Linked DNA regions of Homo sapiens: regions 2 and 3 are each linked to region 1. Evidence: promoter capture Hi-C in 16 types of primary human blood cells and fetal thymus (Javierre and others, 2016). All regions are on one chromosome and are shown on one strand. Each heading gives the region's core, a stretch centred on a gene start or on the middle of the fragment in contact. The rest is flanking DNA. Distances are from core to core; before and after follow the strand shown.

Evidence for each region. The method cuts DNA at HindIII sites, captures the fragments that hold promoters and counts their contacts. A CHiCAGO score of 5 or more calls a contact.
Region 2: a contact is called between a fragment that was not itself captured here and the fragment with the promoter of AGBL3 in region 1, in 1 of 17 cell types (neutrophils). The highest score is 6.5, in neutrophils.
Region 3: a fragment that was not itself captured here is called in contact with the fragment with the promoter of AGBL3 in region 1 in 1 of 17 cell types (total CD4 T cells); the score reaches 6.0 in total CD4 T cells.

The regions. Positions count from the first base shown.
Region 1 is chr7:134,984,030-134,988,377 of GRCh38, forward strand. It overlaps AGBL3 (AGBL carboxypeptidase 3), which reads left to right and starts at 2,479. Exons shown (of 17, transcript NM_178563.4): 1 at 2,479-2,672; 2 at 3,846-3,967. The coding sequence starts at 3,905. RefSeq lists enhancers at 2,381-2,680, 2,691-2,830, 2,911-3,170. The HindIII fragment of the contact is 3,121 bases long and covers 1,423-4,348 here.
Region 2 is chr7:135,258,084-135,262,431 of GRCh38, forward strand. LOC107984123 (a long non-coding RNA gene) reads right to left here. Exons shown (of 6, transcript XR_007060540.1): 6 at 1-4,348. It overlaps STRA8 (stimulated by retinoic acid 8), which reads left to right. Exons shown (of 9, transcript NM_001394401.1): 9 at 335-580. The coding sequence ends at 409. Among named protein-coding and RNA genes, the nearest start is that of STRA8, 26 kb to the left of the region's middle. The HindIII fragment of the contact is 8,504 bases long and covers 1-4,348 here.
Region 3 is chr7:134,718,044-134,722,391 of GRCh38, forward strand. The region is part of intron 1 of LOC124901750 (a long non-coding RNA gene); the gene reads right to left. It also overlaps a transcript of CALD1 not described here. Among named protein-coding and RNA genes, the nearest start is that of CALD1, 59 kb to the right of the region's middle. The HindIII fragment of the contact is 1,676 bases long and covers 1,190-2,865 here.

The sequences.
Region 1 (4,348 bases), core at 1,229-3,728:
TCCTCAGCCTACTCAATGTGAAGACAAGGATGAAGACCATTATGATGAATGACTTACATTTAATGAATACACTTTCTCTTCCTTATAACTTTCTTAATAACATTTCATCTTACTTTGTTGTAAGAATACAGTATATAACACATATAACATACAAAATATGTGCTAATCAACTGTTTATGTCATCAGTAAGGGTTCCAGTCAACAGTAGGCTCTCAGTAGTTAAGTTTCTGGGGAGTCAAAAGTTATATGCAGATTTTCAACTATGTAGAGGACGATACCCCTAACCCCCGAGTTGTTCAAGGCTCAACTGTAGTTCATAACACAGACTTCTCAGTCTATGTACTTGCTGCTTACCCTGCCTGGCAGAGTCTCCCCCTAAGACATCCTACAGTTCATCCCTCTGCTCAAATGCCCCCTAGCCAGAGAGGCCTTCCCTGGCCATTCCATCTAAAAGAGTAACCTAGCAAGGCCCCCCACTCCCAGCATCCCCTATTCTTTTTTTTCCCCCCTACTTGATTTCTCTCCATAGCGGTTATTGTCTGAGTGATATCATTTTTATTATCATCATTGGTTTGTTTGATTACTCCCACCAGAACATAACCTCCACAATAAATGTCTGGTTTTTTTCCTTGCAATAGTGAACTGTCCCTAGTAGGCAGCAGCCATCCAGTGAATTTGTTATACCAAGGCATGAGGATCTCTTGGGACCAGTAGTTTGAGTCTGCAGTGAGCTATGATTGTGCCTCTACACCCCAACCTGGGTGACAGAGCTGTCTTTAAAAAGAAAAAAGTTGTTAATAAAATAATGAATGAATATCATTTTCAAAGTTTTGCCAAGTTCCTAAGTTTTTGGCCAGGCACGGTGACTCACACCTGTAATCCCAGTACTTTGGGAGGCTGAGGTAGACGGATCACTTGACACCAGGAGTTTGAGACCACACTGGCCAACATGGTGACACCACGTCTCTACTAAAAAATACAAAAATTAGTGGTGGCACGTGCCTGTAGTCCCAGCTAGTCAGGATGCATGAGAATCACCTGAACCCCAAAGGCAGAGGTTGCAGTGAGCTGAGATTGCACCACAGCACTCCAGCCTGGGCGACAGAGCAAGTGAGATTCTGTCTCAAAAAAAAAAAAAAAATCCTAAGTTTTTAAAATTATGCATTAAGATCATTTTTCTTCCCATGGACTACTTGGTATGTGATAATATAACTATTTGGACTAAAAATCACGAGACTTAAGTCTCTCAGCCCTGCCATTAATTTCTTATATAACCTGGTTAGACCATTTCTCAGTTTTACCTTGTACAGCTGACATCCTATGGCTTGCAGCCATGACTAAAATCCAACAGAAAAACAGATTACATAAATAAAGATTTCTCTGTGCATGTCACCTTTAGTGATTTATGTATGGCATAAAACAAGCTTCAACTATAAGAGCTACTTTTCAAGAGGTTGATCTAAGATATACTCTATTAATATTCTCTGGCCAAGGTCTAATCTGGAAGGTTCATACTTTTAAACTGCTGACCTCAAAAACACCTATTTTCAGATACTTACAAAATACAAAGAGATTATGTTAACCCATTTCCATGCTTAAGCCATAGTGCTTTGCCCTTTATTCTACTTTCAAACTTGCTACCATTTATTATCTCCATTTCTACAATATCACGAATCTCATGACATATAACGCTTTGTGAAAAGTGTTTATTTACATTCTTATATCATCAAAATCTAGACTTTTTTTCAGCTGTACTTGGAAAACTTTTCCAAATAGATTACCTTACCCTGTAGAGCTAAAGATGAGGGAAAAAATCAATATGGGATGTTCATGAATAACGTCTGTTAACTAAATGAGACTACATATAGTGATTTGCAGTCATCAGGAAAACAGTGTTAAATATGCTAGCTGACGATTGCTATAAAGAATCTCTGAGCTGATAATTTTGAGAATTCACCCTAGTTCATCTATGACTCTCCATTTAGTATTTAAGGAGAAAAGCCTCATTTTCCAGAATCGAATAAGCGAATTAATCGCACAATTGTGTAGAATGGAACTCAGTCTGTAAAAAATCAAGACCAACGTACTTTTTAATATTCTAACATCTCCAAGTAGTAGTTACAAGTATTGTACCCATGAAGTCCAGGTAATTAATTTGTTCAATGTCACACTGTTAAAAGTCAGGTGGGCTCCAAAGCACAGTCCTAACCAGCATGCTCTACTGCCTCCTCTGAGGCAACAGCCGAAGTGCAGACCACTGGGAATAAATAGCTGCCCGGTCTTCCCCACTCCTAAATTCTCCCGACAGACCCCAAAGCCTCTCTGAGAGCCTCTCTGACCGCCCTGCGGCCCACCCCGAGTTCCCGGCATCCTCTGGGATCCCTCTTCCTGGAGCCAAAACCTACGCAGGCTCCTTTCCTCCGAGCTGGTTGCTAGGTGATCTCCGAAGGCTGTCCGAAGTCTCGCGAGGGCGGACCCGTTGCCTGATGACGAGAGTTGGGAGTGTGGCTGGGGCTGCGGATCTCCAGCAGTGGCGTTACTTCTAGCGGCTGGATACCGGGTTCTCCGCGAGATCGCGAGATCCCGAGATATTCTCCCCGCACGGAAGCGACGACTGGCCTGGCCAGAGGACTCGCGTGGGAGCGAGGTGCCGGCCCCGACAGGACGGTGAGGTATGCAGAAGTAAGGCGGGGCGCCCCCTGCGGGAAGCGAGCGCGCCCCGGAAAATGAGCGCCTCCCCACACCAAGGTGTCCAGGAGTGAGTGCGGGAAGGAACTCGGCCGCCCGGAGTTGTGGCCTCATCGTGCTTCCCGCCAAAAACGCCTTGGTACTGTCGGGACGCGGCTAAGCGTGGACGCGCCCGCATCTGCCCCTCCTCCGCAGTGGTGGAAGACACCCGCGGAGCGCCGGTGGATAAGGGCCGTTTCCTGAGACCAGAGCTGTATCCGCAGCAGGTCAGCACTTCGTGCGCCCTGTGTGCACCTGTAAGGAATGGAATTTAGGCCAGTCGGATTTTCCAAATGTGGAGTTGTGATGCCCAGGCAGAAACTTCAGTTTCTTAGGACTGAAGGTGTCATCTATGAGACAGTCGGTTCCGTGGCATTGGCAGTGATTTGCCATAGAGCTTGGACTTAACTTATATGTAGTCCACGCTCCAAAACACGCTTCCTGTAGAGAGGGGCGTAAACTAATAGATTTGAAATTGTCGAGTCCTTTGGTCTCTCAAGAACGATGGGAACTTGACAAGAAATTTCGATTATTCCCTGGTCTTGATATTACCCACATGGGAAGATACTTGCATAGAATGGTAATGGTCATTACCAATACAACCTTCTGGTAGCTATTTAGATTTCTAAGAATAAGAATAATATAAATGAATATTAGAACAGACAGTATCTACAGAATAATAATCAAAATGTAAAGTCTTGTCACTTGAACTTTTGGTCAAGTGAAAATCAAGGAGAAAACTTAAAATTATATTGCTACATTTCAGTAAGTGACTATAATTTTTAAATTCATTATCTTTTAATGCCTCAGGATCATTCTGAACTTGCTGTGTAGTATTTAATTGTAAATATAAAATGTGAATGATTTGGCTGTATACTCTGGAAATTCCTTTTAATTAAATGATTTGCTTGATTTGTCTTATTGTGGTTGTTGTCTCGTATAGTCATGGAAAATTCCTTTAACTCTTTGAAATTGAAGGTTTTATTAGTTGTATTCTAATTAGTTTTTAGAGAAGACTGTTGTGACTGTTAAATACAATTGAATATATTTTTGAGTACTCATTTAATGTAGTAAACACCTACAGCTTGAAAAGAAAAGCTGTCATATAATTTCCTTAGAAATTGTTTTACAGCCTACCCGTATATTACAAGAAATCTCAAGTCAAACACTGGAAAAGATGTCAGAAGATTCAGAAAAGGAAGACTATTCAGACAGAACAATCAGTGATGAAGATGAATCGGTATGTTTTTCTCAACTTTATTTTACTTGGAGATAAAATTTGTATTATATAAATCCCCAATTAAAATATTATAAAATCAATTGGATATAAAAATCAATTGGATGTTTAAATTATTGTCATTGAAGTTGGGAAATAATTTGGCTGAAAAAGCTAAGCTATCACTGGGAACACTATGCCCTGTCTAGAAAGAGAAACTATATTTGTATTTTTTTTGAGAAAATATTTTAGCTAAGATTCTTCTAGGTTTTATTAAAATTTGTATATGAAATTATTAGTAGGGTTTTAGTTTTAGGATTGATGTCCACTTATTTTCTTCTATGTGCTGATTGGATTGTGTTACATCGTAGTATGAATCATAGTAGAACCACCGTGTTCTAACCT
Region 2 (4,348 bases), core at 973-3,472, 270 kb after region 1:
TGCACCGTCTTCTATTGATGAGCATTTGGATAAAGCCTTATGAGGTCCTCTGTCTCTCTTGTGGGAACCTGGAAATCCCCAGGATAAAAAAGAAGCCAGTTCTGCTGTGTCCTTTCTGGAGGTCATAGAATGCTGAGTTGAGTGAAATGGAAATGGGACCTTCCCCCCTTAGAGCCCTTGCTTCCTGGCCCAAGCTGGAGGTGAAAATGCAGCGGAAGAGACGTAGGATAGAGTCTGGGGGCTGGGCACACCGGAGATGCAGGAGCCTTCCTATCTGCCTCGGGCCCAAGACCCACAGATAAAAAGTGACCCTCTTCCACCCTGTGTCTTGCAGGAAGCATCCTTTCCCGTTGATGAAGAGATGATCATGTTGCAGTGCACAGAGACCTTTGACGATGAAGATTTGTAATGCAGAAGAGGAGCTGCGAGGGGAGGGACTGAATGAGGTGGGCAGTTCCCAAGGTTGAATGCTGGCAGCTAAGGTTGCACCTGCCTTGGCCTCCAGGACTCTTTGGAGTGGGTTGTTCCAGAAGCATTTTGATGATTTTAGTTTCTGATTATTATAAAGTATAAGAGAAGCACGGCCTCGTGTTGGTCTTTAGGGACTGTTTGGCACAAAGGGCTGGCCTGCTGCTATTGTGCTCCTATTAAGGGGGTAGAAAGTACAGCTGGGGCCCAGGCCATGGGCCTTTCAAGGAGGACAGGCAGGATCTGTCCTCGGAGGTGACATAACACCAGGTACTTTCAGCATGTCCTGGGCACAGGGCATTGCCCTGATGGGTTCTAGAGAGTTCCACAGCCCACCTGCTCATCCTGCACACTCTGAGAGCCAGGGGCAGTGCTGACCTCAACCCTGTGCCACAGGACAGCTGGGTGGAACCAGATTCATCTGCTGCTCCTGGTAATAAAGTCACCTGAACAGGAGCTACAGTGAGGTCCGAGGGTTCCGAGGGCTTTCTGGTGAGGCTTCTGGGCAAAGGGTGCATACGTGTACCTGGGCTTGGACACTGGGGGTGAGGGTGAATTTTATGTGTCAACCTGGCTAGTCTGTGATACCCAGGAATTTGGTCAAACATTATTTTAGATGTTTCTGTGAAGGTATTGTTAATGAAATTAACATTTAAGTCAGGAGACTTCCAGTAAAGCAGATGATCCTCAGAATGCTTCCTATAGGTTAAAGGCCTGAATCGAAAGAGACCGACCTCCCGGGAGAAAGAGGGAATCCTGCCAGCAGTCCAACTTTGGACTTGAACTGCGGCTCTTCCCAGCCTGCCGGCCCGCCTTGCAGATTTTAGACTTGCACCTCCACAACTGCATGGGTCCCTTCCTTAAAATAAATATTTCACCTCTCTCTTTCTCTGTATCTACGTATATACACATCTTATTGGCTCTATTTCTCTGGAGAACCCAGACTAATGCAGGGTGTGCGGGGAGAATGGGCTTGCATGGCTCTTTACAGTTTTCAAGGCATCATAGCAGCCCCTCCCCTGCACTGAGGCCCTCCCAAAGGCTTGGACTGTGTTATCTCCTAGCGAGAGTCTGAAACACCGGCTAAGTCTTAGGACCCAGACCCAGTCCTGTGTGACTCCAAAGCAGTCCTGAGATGCATGAGCCCGCACTCAAGGACTTCCCCCGGGGTGTGCAGGGATAGGAGCTTCGCAAGCCCTTCACAGCTTACAAATCACCGCACCGAGTGGGCAGAGGGAGGCTCTCCAGGAGCTGGGCAGGAAGGGCCTTTGTGCTCAGGGGCAGCTTGAACTCCTGCTGGAAAGACAGGAATGCAGGAGCTCAGGTTGGCCACCCCTAGAGGCTCACCAAGCCAGCTGTGTGGGAAAGAAGAAATGCAGCTTTACAGAGGGGCGTGCACATAGTAGGCCCTCAAGCAATGTATGCCAGTGCTAGCCAGCCCCTCCCTCTTTGTACCAAGCTCCACCCTGATCCTATTTAGTCCAAGGCTGCGACTTCATTCCTTGAGCCATACCTGCCAGCAGCCCCTAGTCAGAGAGGACCTCAGCAGGATGTGGAGGTGTCCCTTCCCCCCACAACCTTGTGCTGGGTTGTGAGCCCAACAGCCCTCTGCTTCTCTCCTGCAGCCTTGGGTATTGGCATAGCCTGGGATGGAGTTATTGCATAAAACTACCTTCACGTGGTTCTCAATCTCCCTTCCTCCCCACCAAGGACTTGTATCGGGAAGGTATCTTCCTATATCAGTCAGTACTGTAGCAATCAGAGTTCTGCAGAAAAACAGTGCCAATACGATATAGAGACACCGAGATTTATTTTAAGAAATTGGTTTATCTGTTTGTGGGGACTGCATGTCTGAAATCTGTAGGGCTTCCAGGAGGCTGGAAACTCAGGCTGGAGTTGGCAGTGCAGTCTTGAAAGAATGTCTCCTCCCAGAAACCTCAGTTCTGTTCTTACGGCCTTCAGCTAATGGATGGTGAGCCCCAATCACATCAGCAAGGGCAATCTTCTTAATTTAAAGTGGACTGGTTTGTTAACCACATCTATAAAATGCCTTCACAACACCCCCTAAAGGAGTGCCTGATTAGATAACTGGATACTATAGCTTGGCCAGCTTGACACATGAAACCAACATCACGGGTACCCCTTGGGGATTTTTATGTTGTTGTTGTTATAGCAGCTCCCTGTGGAGGTTGGGCCTCTGTTATTACTGCCATTTGACAGATGAAGAAACAATGATTTAACTGAAGCCCCAAACCATTTAATAGAAGAATCTCAGATCACCTCACCTCTAACTCTTTTTATCCCCAATAAGTTAATGAATGGGGAACAATTTTGTTGTTTAAAGTCACAAAAAAGCCCTGCCTCTAAAGAATTAGGATGTAGGAATGTGAAGCCAGCCCTTGGAGTTCACTCTGTCGGCCACTCTGTGCATCACCTCTAGGTGATGACTGGGAGGGGGATCATGGGAGGTCAAGTGGAGGCGGGAAGAAGCAAGATTGGAGGTGAAGGAGGGAAGCTGCGAGGCCGTGGCTCTAGGCACTGCATTATCAGAACAGGGGATTCAGATTCTGATAGCGACCTTGGAATGTGCAGAAAAAGCTCCAACAGATAAATGCTTATTGAGTGCAGATGGTGTGGGCGGGTGGTGGCTGGGCTGAGCTGACATCTAGCTTGGGTAACTCAGTTCCACCTCATGCTAATTGAATCAAGCTAATTACCCCAAGCCCATCTCGTCAATTACTTCTTATCCACCAGCTACTTCTCCAACCTTGATTCTGAACAAAACAAGCCTTTGTGCTTTTATGGAAATGTCAGAAATCTGTCCCTTCTTGCATATGCTTCTCACAAAGCTGCCTTGTTCCTGAAGCTCTGAAACTACGTGTTCTGACAATAAAAAAAAGTACAGCTGAGGGAAGACCAGGAGGCTGTTCCAGGAGAGGGCCTGGCTCTCTTCTCCTGCTGTTCATCCTGCTTTGGCTGCCTGGGGACAGCACGATACGAAAATAAAGTACAGGAAAACCCACTTGGAAAACTGAGCCTGGCTGCCTGGCAGCTGTTTGGTGAGAACATAGGGAATGTTCTGAAGTCCTGGAGCTGTCAACCAAAGGAAAAGGAACAAAGGGCAGAATGAGACAGGATGTGAAGGGCTTCTGTGGGCACAGAAGCAGTAGGGTAAGGAAAGAGGATGGGCCTGCTCTTGACTGGTATGAGAGGCATCCAGGACTCCTGGAGCAGCTAAGCGCAGGTCCTCAGCTCCAGCACATTTATTACAGCATGTTAGATGGGCGGGACCCTGTTACTTTAAGCCTACCATGGCACACACTCACAAAAGTCTCTTTTTAAGAAAAAAAATCTTTTTTTAAGATAGCAGAAATAACAGCAGGTGTGTATGCTGACATGCGTTACTGAAAGAAAGAGAAAACTTGATGCAAGATAGGAGACTTGTCGCAGTGAAACCCTTGAATAGAAATCAGGGAATGGGCTCTGGAGCACAAGGGGAGGAACCAGCTTCAGGGAGGAGCCAGGCAGCTCATTCACCCAACAGGAGGGAGAGTCAAGGGGCACCAAAGCTAGGAGTGGAGACATGCAGGTGTTTGCACAGTTTCTCATCTGATTACTCCTTTACAGATTTCTCTGAAATAAGAAGCTGAGGTTGGGTATGGTGGCTCATGTCTGTAATCCTAGCACTTTGGGAAGCCAAGGCTGGAGGACTGCTCGAGCCGAGCGGTTCAAGACTAGCCTGGGCAACATGACAAGACTCTGTCTCCACAAAGTATTTTTTAAAAAATTAGCAGAGTGCGGTGGCACATGCCTGTAGCCCCAGCTACACGGAAGGCTGAGACAGGAGGATCCCTTGAGCCCAGAGGTCAAGACTGCAGTG
Region 3 (4,348 bases), core at 778-3,277, 270 kb before region 1:
TTTCTTTTTCCCTTTTGTTTTTAAACACAGAATCAATCTAAAGTTGGTTCATGGTAAGAGAAGAAAAATGGGAGAGCAGTTTTTTTATAAGTGCCTGTGGATTTATTCTGAAACCCTAAGTTCTAGATTGAAAACATTTTTTTAAATCCTCCTCTTGGGAAAGAAGATGAAATCCAAAGGATTGTGTGAATTTACACTATTAATAATAGCTACCATTTATTGTAAGCTTGATGTCATAAGCACTTTACATGGATTATAACATTCTATCCACTCATCAATCTTATGAAGTAGACACTGTTATTATCTCCATTTTACAGACATGACAAAAAGGCACAGAGAAGTTAAATAGCTTGCCCAAGGTCACTCTGTGGTGGTTAAGCTGGGATTTGAGCCGAGGCAGGTTGACTTCTGAACCTGAGTTTTTAATCACTAAACTCAACTGCTATAAATTACATACTTATATTTATTTGTATACATGTGTTTATTTAATGGGAAAAAAATGTTTCATATAATGATGTATCTGAGATGGGAGCAGAGACAAGTAGTAAAATACAGATGATTTATAAAAGGCTTGTTATGCATTAAAAATGCATAAAACCTGGCCTCAGCTGTTTTAAAATTAGAGTAAATTACTGTACAAATTTCTGTTGCAATCAGAAGACGTTGGCTACTGCTGTTGTTGTGAATAATAAAATTCTTTGTCTCTGACCCAGAAGTCTCATGTCTTATACTGGTTGCTAGTTTTCAAGAAGGGTAAAATCTAAGACCCTTAGCAGTTCTTGACAACTGTTTCTGGAGTTTTTATTTCCCCAAAATATTGTCACTATTGCTTAGATGTCATACCTAGATGAATAACACTTGCCAAATAAATTTTTGAGTCAAGTTGAATGAAATAATTACCTTTTACTGGGAACCTATCAGTGGTTCTCACCCATGCTAGCCTCATGACTACTGTGTACACTATAGAGTATTATCTCCATTTTGCAAATGAAGAAACTGAGGTATAAGGACATTATTTTCCCCAATATCCTACAGCTCACAAATGTTAGAACTAAGGTCTGAAGCTAGTCCAATGTTCTTTCTGCCACTATTGCCTCTTAAAACATTTTAGCTACAGAAATATTAACTTTCAGACCAAATTATGAAGGTCACTGGGAACGGAAAAATGATTGTTTAAAGAGAAAATTTAAGCTTCAGAGAAGAAGGAAAGGGAGAAGTGAAGAATAAATAAGGAAGAAAAAAATAGAAAGAGGAGAGACAAAAAGGGATAAAAAAATATGTCCAAATAACTTTACAGGGCAAATAGAGGGCTGGGGTCCCTACAACAAGAGTTGGGAGCAGAACAGGGTTATGAGGCTCGCCAGAGGAACTTGGTGTAGACCTGTAAAAAGTAGCAGAGCACCCAGGGTGAAGCCTAGGAAGAGCCAAACAGCCAATCTAAATAAAGTACCAATCAGGCAAAGGGCTAGAGTCCAGGGAAATGGGGCAGTCATCATTGTCTCCTAGAAAGAGCAGGCAGAGAACAGCGTCCAGGGAAAGAAACCGGTAGTTTGCGAGGGGGGATAGGAGAGATTTCTCCAAGCACAGGAAGAGTGTAGCTGGGCCCATCAATGGCCATTGTCCGATATGTGTTTGTCCATTTTGTTTTGCTTGGACGTCAACGGCCTTGTGTGTGTGCAAAAAAGAGCTTTTAAGGACCCCAATCTGGTTTGGACAAGGTGACAGAAGCCAAAAGTTACCTTGGTTGAGTCTTAAGGGAATGAATTTTGAGAGTTACCTGTTCAAAAGCCAAAATGTTCAAATCCCGAAATGTTCACATCAATCACCAAAGATGCCCCCGAAATGTTCACATCAATCGCCAAAGATGCCCGCAGTGAGTGTTTGTTTTCTTGTTTGTATCTCTGTTTCAACTCAGTTGTACTTTGAGCTACACAGATCCTTCAAAAGAATAAAAGCTGGGTTTCTTAACCCCCGCTTTGGTTAGCGTGTATGCTTTCAGCACCTATGTTTAGTATTTTTTAGAATGTAGCCTTTGTAAACTTCACCCACTGTATTTTGCTGAAGTCAGACTCACCCTTTGTTCACCAGTAATCAGCAAACATTTGTTAGTGACGACAGTGGCACTCTGGTTAGCCCTCCTCTTTTTTTTTTTTTTTTTTTTCCTTGCAGAGCATAGTTGAAATAATTTGGGAAAGTTTCTCTTCTTCAAGGAGCTGGGAAAGAATGATGAATGGGCCCCTTGTTCTGATGCATCCTTCTATTTCCTGCAGAGGAAAAAACTGACGGCTGCTAATCTCTGTGTGTTCAGGAGCTCTACCTTCCTTCCTAATAAGATCGCTGTTGTAATAAGCATGTGCCATGGAGGTGAAGCAGAGTTTCCCATTATTTATTAGGCCTGAGTCCTCATTAGTAACTTCTTTATAAAATAAACATGAGGCTTTGCAGAAATGGGGAACAAGAGCCTACTTCATACAAAGTACAATGATAAATGTCTCCTGTGGCCCCAGATTCCAACGCTTAACATCTGTGATCTCCCCATCTCCATGGCAACATAAAGTAAATAGTAAAAATAGTCCAAATCCAGGAAAAACACAGCAGGGAATGTCTGTCCTAAAGGAAAACAAACGCTTAACATGCACTCATACATGAGCAAGAGGACCCACATGAAATGTAGCAGTTGGTCAATAGGAAAACAACAGAGAGTGGGGAATGAAGGGTCTTCAAGCTAGCAGACAAGAAATGTCAGATGATTTGAAGAAGTGTTGTCTGCTTTCAGTAGGAGGCCTGAAGGGAACATTGTGTCTTATATTCATGGGCTTGTACAGTGTGTATTTTACATTTTGTACAAATGTGTTTTGAATTATAAGCTTGTCATATTACACTAGATTTAAAGGGAACCATAGATTATAAAAGTAATAGCATCAAACAAAGAGTTGAGAACTGGTGATTTGGTGTTTGCCATGTAACTTCTTAGCAAAGCTGTGGTCTGCCTAACAGACCCTCTGAATCTTCTCCCTACCTGTAGCCCAACAGCCTGGGGCTGTTCCTGATATTCGCTATAGGCCGCTGGAACAGGAGGCTCTGTGGCCTCCCTGTGTCCCCCACAGTTGTGGCAAGAGCAGTGGAGCAGCCCTCTGGAAGAGAAGAATGTTCCCCTTAGGGGTGCAAGAAAATGCCTGGGAATAGGATATTTTCAAGAACGGCGATTTTCAGTTAATTTAATTTTCTGATTAACTGCAGTGACTTTGGGCCTTTCAACTCACTGAGCCTGGTTTAAGTCATCTGCAAAAAAAAAAAAAAAAAGGATGGGGTACTTCATGACCCTGGAGTCCTGCCAGCCTTGGAATTCTGCAATTCTATGAATTGAGCACAAGGCATGATTTTGTTTCAGCCTTTGTGGATTAAAAAACTTAGAATTCCTGGGTTTCTACTATAGTAGAACAGTTTCTACTGTTCTACTGCTGGTTTCTACTGCTATAGTAGAACAGTTTACTGGGTTTACTGTTCTACTATAGCAAAAAATACAACCCCATGGCTGTGTGTGTTTAGGGGAGGTGGGGGGGTGAAGGGTGGATGTGGTTTAGGGGAAAGACCGAGGGGGTCTACAGCCAATCCCAGTGACTAGCTGTGTGACCTCAGGCCAGTTATTCCACCCTTCTTGGCGGTAGTGTCTCCATCTCCATCAATGGAGATGATGGTATTCCTTGCAACATTATTGCTGTAGGAATACTGGTAAATGATCAACATATGGTAACCACAATATCCTATCAGATTTGGAGTCAGTACTTGAAGAATATTTTTCATCACATAGGTAAGACTTGATAGTAGTGGGGTAGCTCGTGCTGTGTAATTTATGGAACGCAGTCTCAATACTTTGTGATGGGGTTTCCGTTTGGCTCTAAGCAAGTGTGACTCTACCCTGAAGATCTATGGTGGGGTTTTTCTTTTCATTCCCTGACTGTAGCTTTTTCCTCTGATGGTTTTTCTCTTTCTTAAAGCTAGAGCACAGCTAAAACATTCTAGTTAAGTGAATATCCTAGAATGGCTGGATCCTAACACGTGGAAGTCTTTACTGTATGATTTGTGCACAGACACCTTGCCGGTTATTCACAGGTCGTGTTCAAATTTAAAGCTCACCAGGAGTCAATAGCCACAAAGATGACTTTGGAGCAGATTCCCTCTCTTCTATTGTTCCTTTCCTCCGGCCAAGTTTCTCTTCTCTTTGCCACTTTTTTCCTCTCTTACCCTTTCACCATTCTCTTTTCTCTTTTCTTCTTCTTCTAATCTTTTGATTTTAGTGTTCTCATCTTTCCAACTTTGTGCTGTGCATTCTGCAGTAGTTCGATTT